Regions from separate parts of the Homo sapiens genome. Here region 2 is linked to region 1. The links are contacts of gene promoters, found by promoter capture Hi-C in blood cells and fetal thymus (Javierre and others, 2016). All regions are on one chromosome and are shown on one strand. The core of a region is centred on a gene start or on the middle of the fragment in contact, and the rest is flanking DNA. Distances in the headings are between cores, read along the strand shown.

The links. Contacts are between HindIII fragments. The CHiCAGO score rates a contact against its expected background, and 5 or more counts as called.
Region 2: a fragment that was not itself captured here is called in contact with the fragment with the promoter of IGSF6 in region 1 in 1 of 17 cell types (erythroblasts); the score reaches 5.5 in erythroblasts.

The regions. Positions count from the first base shown.
Region 1 is chr16:21,650,792-21,654,492 of GRCh38, forward strand. It overlaps IGSF6 (immunoglobulin superfamily member 6), which reads right to left and starts at 1,817. Exons shown (of 6, transcript NM_005849.4): 1 at 1,741-1,817. The coding sequence starts at 1,807. All of the region lies in intron 4 of METTL9 (methyltransferase 9, His-X-His N1(pi)-histidine), which reads left to right. The HindIII fragment of the contact is 3,735 bases long and covers 813-3,701 here.
Region 2 is chr16:22,663,983-22,667,683 of GRCh38, forward strand. No RefSeq gene overlaps it. Among named protein-coding and RNA genes, the nearest start is that of LINC02890, 52 kb to the left of the region's middle. RefSeq lists an enhancer at 696-855. The HindIII fragment of the contact is 798 bases long and covers 1,155-1,952 here.

The sequences.
Region 1 (3,701 bases), core at 567-3,066:
CAGCCTGCTTCTGTGAATGATTTCTTTTAAGAATCCTCATATTCTAGGAATTGTTTTTTAAACACAGTATCCAATGAAAAGGTTGAAGATTTATTTCCTCCATGGAGGGAATAGAAAGATTATTCTTATTATTTTAAAAAACCATATTGAGGCTGGGCATGGTGGCTCATGCCTGTAATCCCAGCATTATGGGAGGCCGAGGCGGGCGGATCACGAGGTCAGGAGATCGAGACCATCCTGGCTAACACGGTGAAACGCTGTCTCTACTAAAAATACAAAAAATTAGCCGGGTGTGGTGGCAGATGCCTGTAGTCCCAGCTACTCGGGAGGCTGAGGCAGGAGAATGGCGTGAACCCGGGAGGCGGAGCTTGCAGTGAGCCGAGATCTTGCCACTGCACTCCAGCCTGGGTGACAGAGCGAGACTCCGTCTCAAACAAACAAAAAAGCCATATTGAAAGTAGGAAGAGAACTAATTCTTGACATTTAAACAAAGCTGTCTCTCTATCTAGTAAGTAAGAAGTAAGTAAATGTCTTGCTCTGTTGCCCAGGCTGGAGTGCAGTGGCACAATCACAGCTCCCTATAGCCTGAAAGTCCTGGGCTCAAGTGATCCTCCTGCCTCAGCCTCCCAGGTGGGTGGGACTGCAGGTGCAGTGCAGGTGCCATCACGCCCAGCTATTTTTTTTTCTTGTGTAGAAATGGGGGTCTCATTATGTTGTTCATGCTGGTCTTGAACTCCTGAGCTCAAGTGATCCTCTCACCTTGGCCCCCAAAGTGCTGGGATTACAGGCATGAACCACCACGCCCAGCCCAAAGCTTTATTATATTAGATTTCAAATTTCTAACATATCAAAGTAGCGAAGTAGTACAGTCAACCCCCTGCCATCACATGGCTTCGACCCAATCTTGTTTCTTTTCTCCTCCCACCTACTCCCTCACTCCCATATTATTTTAGAGCAAATCCCAGCCATTTTATCTGCATCTTTCAGAATATATCTCTAAAAGACAGGAATTCTTCTTTAAAATAATGCTAATTAAAATAGTCTATGAAAGTAATATATACTTATTAGCAAAAAACAGGTTATTAAAAGTAGAAGCAAAAAGTCACCCATAGTCCTTTTGCCTGAAATAACTCCCATTAACATTTTGATATATTTCTTCACAGATGAGAAAAAATTAAGAACTTTCCCCCCTTCCCTGCCCTATAATCCAAATTGTGTGGGCAAATCTGAGATTACTAGATGTATTGGAAATCCTTTCTCTTTCATAGATAAAAAAACAGAAGTAGACAGAATTTTAAAAATAGATATACTATGGGATGGCTATTGGAGTCATGGCAGTTTTTTTTTTCTTAAATGAAAAGTACTTTTATAGAAATTGTTCTTTGAAAATATTCAGCAAATAATCATTTATTGCTTTCTATGTGCAGATCAAGTTTGTATGATAATTAAATTATTGATAACTTATACCTACGATTTTAAGAATATTTTCAACCCTTTGGTCAGATTGTCTCCAATTAGCATAATAGCAAAGAGACTTTTCAAGGTTAATATGAAACTTTTTCTCAGCTATTTTTTTATTGTCTATTTCTCAGGGGAAAAAGGAAACTTATCCTCTTAGGCAGTTTTCATAATGTTATACATTTAAAAATTAATCTGAAGGAGCTTAAAATATAAATGCATTAGGTGAAAAATAGCAGTTGATTTAAATAAAATGAAGGAGGAGAAGAAAAAGAACCTTACCGACACAAAATAGAATGAGATTGGTTTGCAGATGGCGAGCGATGTTGCTTCTGCTCGCAGTCCCCATTTCTGTGTATGCCGGGGCGGGTTGGGGTGTGTATTTGAAAGGAAAGTTGGCTTTCTTTTTTCAGAAGGGAAGAAGAGCTGAAGAGAGGAACCTCTTATGAAGGAACCATAATCAGGAACTTTTTGAAATTGTGCAAGGATGGCTTCACCATTTAACATTGAGATTTTGGCCTGGAGCACATTTAGAAATGTGCATATCTTTTTTTTTTCCATGGATTTTACAGTTGTCATAGGTGTTAGATGTTTCTGGGTGAGATTTTGATTTACACCTAGCACATATTTCCAGGAAGGAGTATTGTTTGACAAATAATTCGTACTTGGATTTTTCAGAACAGTTCAGTCACTGTCTAGGGTACCTGCTCTGGGTGCCACTCTGGGCCAGTAACTGCTGGGAACAAAGAACAGCAGAAGGAGAAGTGGCTTTGTGTAGAGATGAGAAAAGTTAGTAAACAACACATTCTAATGCAGCGAATAAATAAATTGTCTGTTATTAACTTTTTGTACTCCAGTTTTGAATCCAAAGACACCTGCCTTCCCCCCTTTTTTGACAGGGTCTCTATCACCCAGGCTGGAATGCAGTGGCAAGATTGCAGGTCATTGCAGCCTCAGCTTCCTGAGTAGCTGGGACTACAGGCATGCACCACCACCCCTGGCTAATTTTTTTTTTTTTTTGTAGATTCTGTGTTGTCTAGGCTAGTCCTGCCCTCAAGCGATCCCCCTGCCTTGGCCTCCCAAAGTGTTAGGATTACAGGTGTGAGCCACCATGCCTGGCCCAAAGACCCCCTTTTAATGTGTTGAGAAACAAATATGTGGGCCCTCTGTCCTCTGTGTCCTCTCCCCCAGCACTTAGTGGTGATTCAGTAAGGGTCTTCTTTGTAAAGCAGCAGAAACAGACTCAGGCTGACTTAAAAGGAAATTTATGCAAACATTTGAAGGTAGATCCTAGAGTCACTGGGAGGGCTAGTGAATCTTGTGTGGGGTCCACAGCCAGGAAGAATGCCTCAAATCACACCATAAACAGGTCTGAAGAGGATGCTACTGCCACTGCCAAACACTAGGTGCCATCAGCCCTGTTGTCAGCATCGCTCAACCACTGCCCCAGCCCCTTGGTCTCACTGCCATTGCTCCACCCCCAGAGAAGGAGAAGCTCACATCCCCACTACTCTGGGTCACTGGCTCTCCATTCCAGGGCATGGGCAAGTGTGCCTGGCTTAGGCTGCGTGCCAGTGCCTCAGCTGCACGGCAGGCCAGGAAAGCGGCTCCCAGGCCTTGTGTCTCTCCCAGACTCTGGGCAGGCAATTCCCCAGACATGGGAAGAGCGTCATCTGCACCACTGAAAATTATGAAAAATCTCCCCACCATGATATGATGTCTGTGCCCTTGGCATCTGCTCATGATATATTTTCTCATTAACAGAAAGTTATTCTCAGTCTGTTTTGTTTTTTTTTTTTTTTTTTTTTTTGAGACAGAGTCTCGCTCTGTCGCCCAGGCTGGAGTGCAGTGGCACGATCTTGGCTCGCTGCAAGCTCCGCCTCCCGGGTTCACACCATTCTCCTGCCTCAGCCTCCCAAGTAGCTGGGACTACAGGTGCATGTTGCCATGCCCAGCTAATTTTTTTGTATTTTTTTTAGTAGAGACGGGGTTTCACTGTGTTAGTCAGGATGGTCTTGATCTCCTGACCTCGTGATCCGCCCACCTCGGCCTCCCAAAGTGCTGGGATTACAGGCATGTGCCACCACGCCCGGCCTCAATCTGGTTTTAACACTTCAACAGATGTATGTAGTTTTTGTATCACCATAGCACCTAAAAAGTACCCCCAAAGTTAAATATACTGTCATCTCTGTGTGTGTGTCTGTAGTCAGTGCCAGGTTTGTATGTGAATTTGAGGACCTTCC
Region 2 (3,701 bases), core at 304-2,803, 1.0 Mb after region 1:
GTGATGTTTCAGAGACAGGGGCTTGCTCTGTCACCAAGGTTGGACTGCAATGGTGCGATCATAGGTCACTGCAGCCTCAAACTCCTGAGCTCAAGCAATTCTCTTGCCTCAGCCTCCCAAATAGCTGGGACTATAGGCACTCACCACCATGTCCGGCTATTTTTAATTTTTTTTTTTTGTAGAGATAGGGTCTTGCTGTGTTGCCCAGGCTGGATTTGAACTCCTGGCCTCAAGTGATCCTCCTGCCTTGGCCTCCCAAAGTGTTGAGATTACAGGCATGAGCCATTCCACCCGGCCAGCTGGCATGCTTCTAAGCCTGCCTTCACCACTAATTGGTTAAGGGCTGGCCTCCAAGGGGAGTGCAAATTCCCAGGCACTCCAGTCTCAGCACACACAGGCAAAGTGAGAGCAGCCCTCTGCCAACATGCAGGTGCTGGCTAAGAGAAAGCACACAAGGAGCTGTGTGCAGAGCGTGGTCTGAGTGCGTGTGGGCAGAGGCCCCAAGAGCCCTGCTATGTGCTCTTATTCCAAGTGGATCCATTAGTTTGTTCTGCACACATTCATCCATCTTCAACTCTGTGCCAGGCTCTGGGCATGCAGGCGACAAAGACACAGCCCTAACCCTCATGAAATTTTTACAGCCAAGTAGGGGAGACAGACATTAAGTTTTAAAAATCCTCCCAAAATGAGGAACTGTGATTGTGAGTAGCGCTGTGGATGAGAAGAACACCTGGGAGGAGACCTCGTCTAGCAGGTGGGCGGGGATGAAGCTTCTCCAAACAAGTGACGCTGAGCCAAGAGCTGAAGGATGAGTAAGAGTGAACCAGGCATAAAAGGGAAGAAGGAGCATTACAAGCCTGGGGTGCATGTGCAAGGGTCCTGGGGCAGGAATCCACAGGAGCAAGTGAAAGGCTGGTGTGACTGGGGTCCGAAGACCCAGGGGAGAGCAGTAAGTGATGAGCCTGTGGGTTGCTGAGGAGTGATTATTCCCCACTTACCACCTGGTTCCTTTTCGAGCCTGTTCAATGTCGTTCAGACCCAGATGTGTGAGCCATTCTCTGGTACGTTCCCTGGAAGCAGAGGGGAAATGGGGACATAGCGAGGATGTTAGGGTGGAAGAGACTATTTTCAATGGTTCATCTTTTCCCCACTGAAGCTTATAGCTGAAATTAATACATAAATTTACAGCCACAAGTCAGTTGTGATAAATAATCCCAGAAGTGTTCCGATTATTTACATTTTTATGGAATCTTGCCTGAGCAAACCCAGAGAGCACACCAGGCACTTGAAGAATTATGTCTTGTTCAAAACCAATTTAATAGCAATGGAAAATAAAGCCATCTGTGGGAACTTGTAGAGCAGAGTAGTAATTCTCTGCCAGATGAGCAATATACAAAAAGCACCAAATCAACCCGAGCACACCAAGCGTTTGCACAGTTCAAGGGAAAGTAACAACTGCAACTTCAATGAACCGTCGGAAGACATCAGGCCTCAGAGTGTCTTTTGCTTGTGTTTTCAGCAGATGTCAGACAGATGAGGATTCTGCTCACGTAGCAATGTGAGAAGAGTCCCTCATGGTCTCCCTACATACAGTGGGGCTGACTGGTGAGAGGCTGTGCAAAAGGGAAGAAAGATCACATGGCGGAGGGGTTAAGAGCATGCGTTTGGGGCCAAAGAGTTGGGAGTTTGCATCTGGGCTCCCCCACTTACTAGCTGGGTGACATAGGGCAAGTCATTGTTTCTTATTTTCCTAATGTGTAAAAATGGGTAATATATGTGAGTGTTTTTCTCTCCCAGTCCAGCATCCTTTCCCCCTGTGTTAGTCTGCTTTGCATTGCTGTAAAGAAATGCCTAAGTCTGGGGTCTGGGTAATTTATAAGGAAAAGGGGTTTATTTTGGCTCACAGTTTTGCAGGCTGTACAGGAAGCATGGTGCTGTCTTGGAGCTCAGGAAGCTTCCAATCATGGCGAAAGGCGAAGGGGGAGCCCATGTGTCACATGGCAAGAGAGGGAGCAAGAGAGAGAGGGGGAGGTGCCAGACTCTTTTAAACAACCAGATCTCATGTGAACTAAGAGCAAGAACTCACTTATTACTGCAAGGCGGGCACCAAGCCATTCATCAGGGATCCACCCCCATGACCCAAACACATCGCACCAGGTCCCACTCCAACACTGGGGATCACATTTCAACATGAGACTTGGAGGGGACAAATATCCAAACCATATAATCCCCAATCTAACAGCATCATGGTTTCCTCTTTTCTCTTGCTTATTTTTTCATGGTTTATTATTTATTTTTTAACAGCTTTATTGAGGTATAATTTACATACATTAAAATTCACCCGTTTAAAATGTACAGTTCGATGAGTTTTAGCAAATTCATATAATGCCACAATTATCTCTACAATCCAGTTTTAGAAAACTTCCATCTCTCCCAAAAGTTTTCTCATTTCCATTTATAGTCAATCCCAACTCCAACCTCCAGCTCCAGGCAACCACCAATGTGGTTACCATCTCTACTGTTTCCCTTTTTCTAGAAATTTCATGTAAATGGAATCATACAATATATAGTCTTATATGTCTGTCTTCTTTCACTTAACATAATGTTTTTGAGATTAATCTATGTTGTTCATTTATTTATTTATTTTTTGAGACGGAGTCTCACTCTGTCGCCAGGCTGGAGTGCAGTGGCACGATCTCGGCTCACTGCAGCCTCTGCCTCCCGGGTTCAAGCAATTCTCCTGCCTCAGCCTCCCGAGTAGCTGGGACTACAGGCGCGTGCCACCACACCCAGCTAATTTTTGTATTTTTAGTAGACATGAGATTTCACCATGTTGGCCAGTATGGTCTTGATTTCCTGAGCTCATGATCCGTCCGCCTCGGCCTCCCAAAGTGCTGGGATTACAGGCATGAGCCACCATGCCCGGCTGATCTATGTTGTTTTAAGTATGTATAGTTTATTCGTTTTTATTGCTTTATGTATACACCACATTTTGTTTACCCATTCACTAATTGATGGATTTAGATGAATTTGAATTTGGATTGTCCACTTTTTTTGGCTGTTATGAATAATGCTGCTTTGAGCAATTGGATATATGTCTTTGCCCTGATATATCCTGCATTTGAATCTTGATTAAATACTTATGAGTGGAATTGCTGGATATTTGGTGCATAACTTAAAAAACTGCCCAATTGTTTTCAAAAGTGGCTGCACAATTTTACATTCCTACCATCAATATATGAGGATTACAGTTACTCCATGTCCTTACTAACATTAGGTATTGTTGGCCTTTTCTATCTAACCATTCTATTAAGTGTGTCATGGCATCTCATTGTGGCTTAAACTTGCATTTCTGCAACAGCTAATGGTATGGAGCAACTTTTTATATGCTTATTATTCATTGGTATATCATCTTCTTTGGTGAACGGTCTATTCTTTCATTTATTTAAAAAATTAGGTTATCTATCTTCATATTATCGAGTGTAAGCATTCACTGTGTTCAGTACAGGTCCTTTATGTGTTTTGCAGATATTTTCTTCCAGTCTATGGCTTATCTTTTCATTTTTCTTGGTGGCATCTTTTAAAGCGCAAAAATGTTAAATTCTGATGAAATCTAACTTGTCAATTTTTTTCTTTCATGAATTGTACTTTTTAGGGTTATTTCTAAGAAATGTTTGCCTAGCTCAAAGTCACAGGAGTTT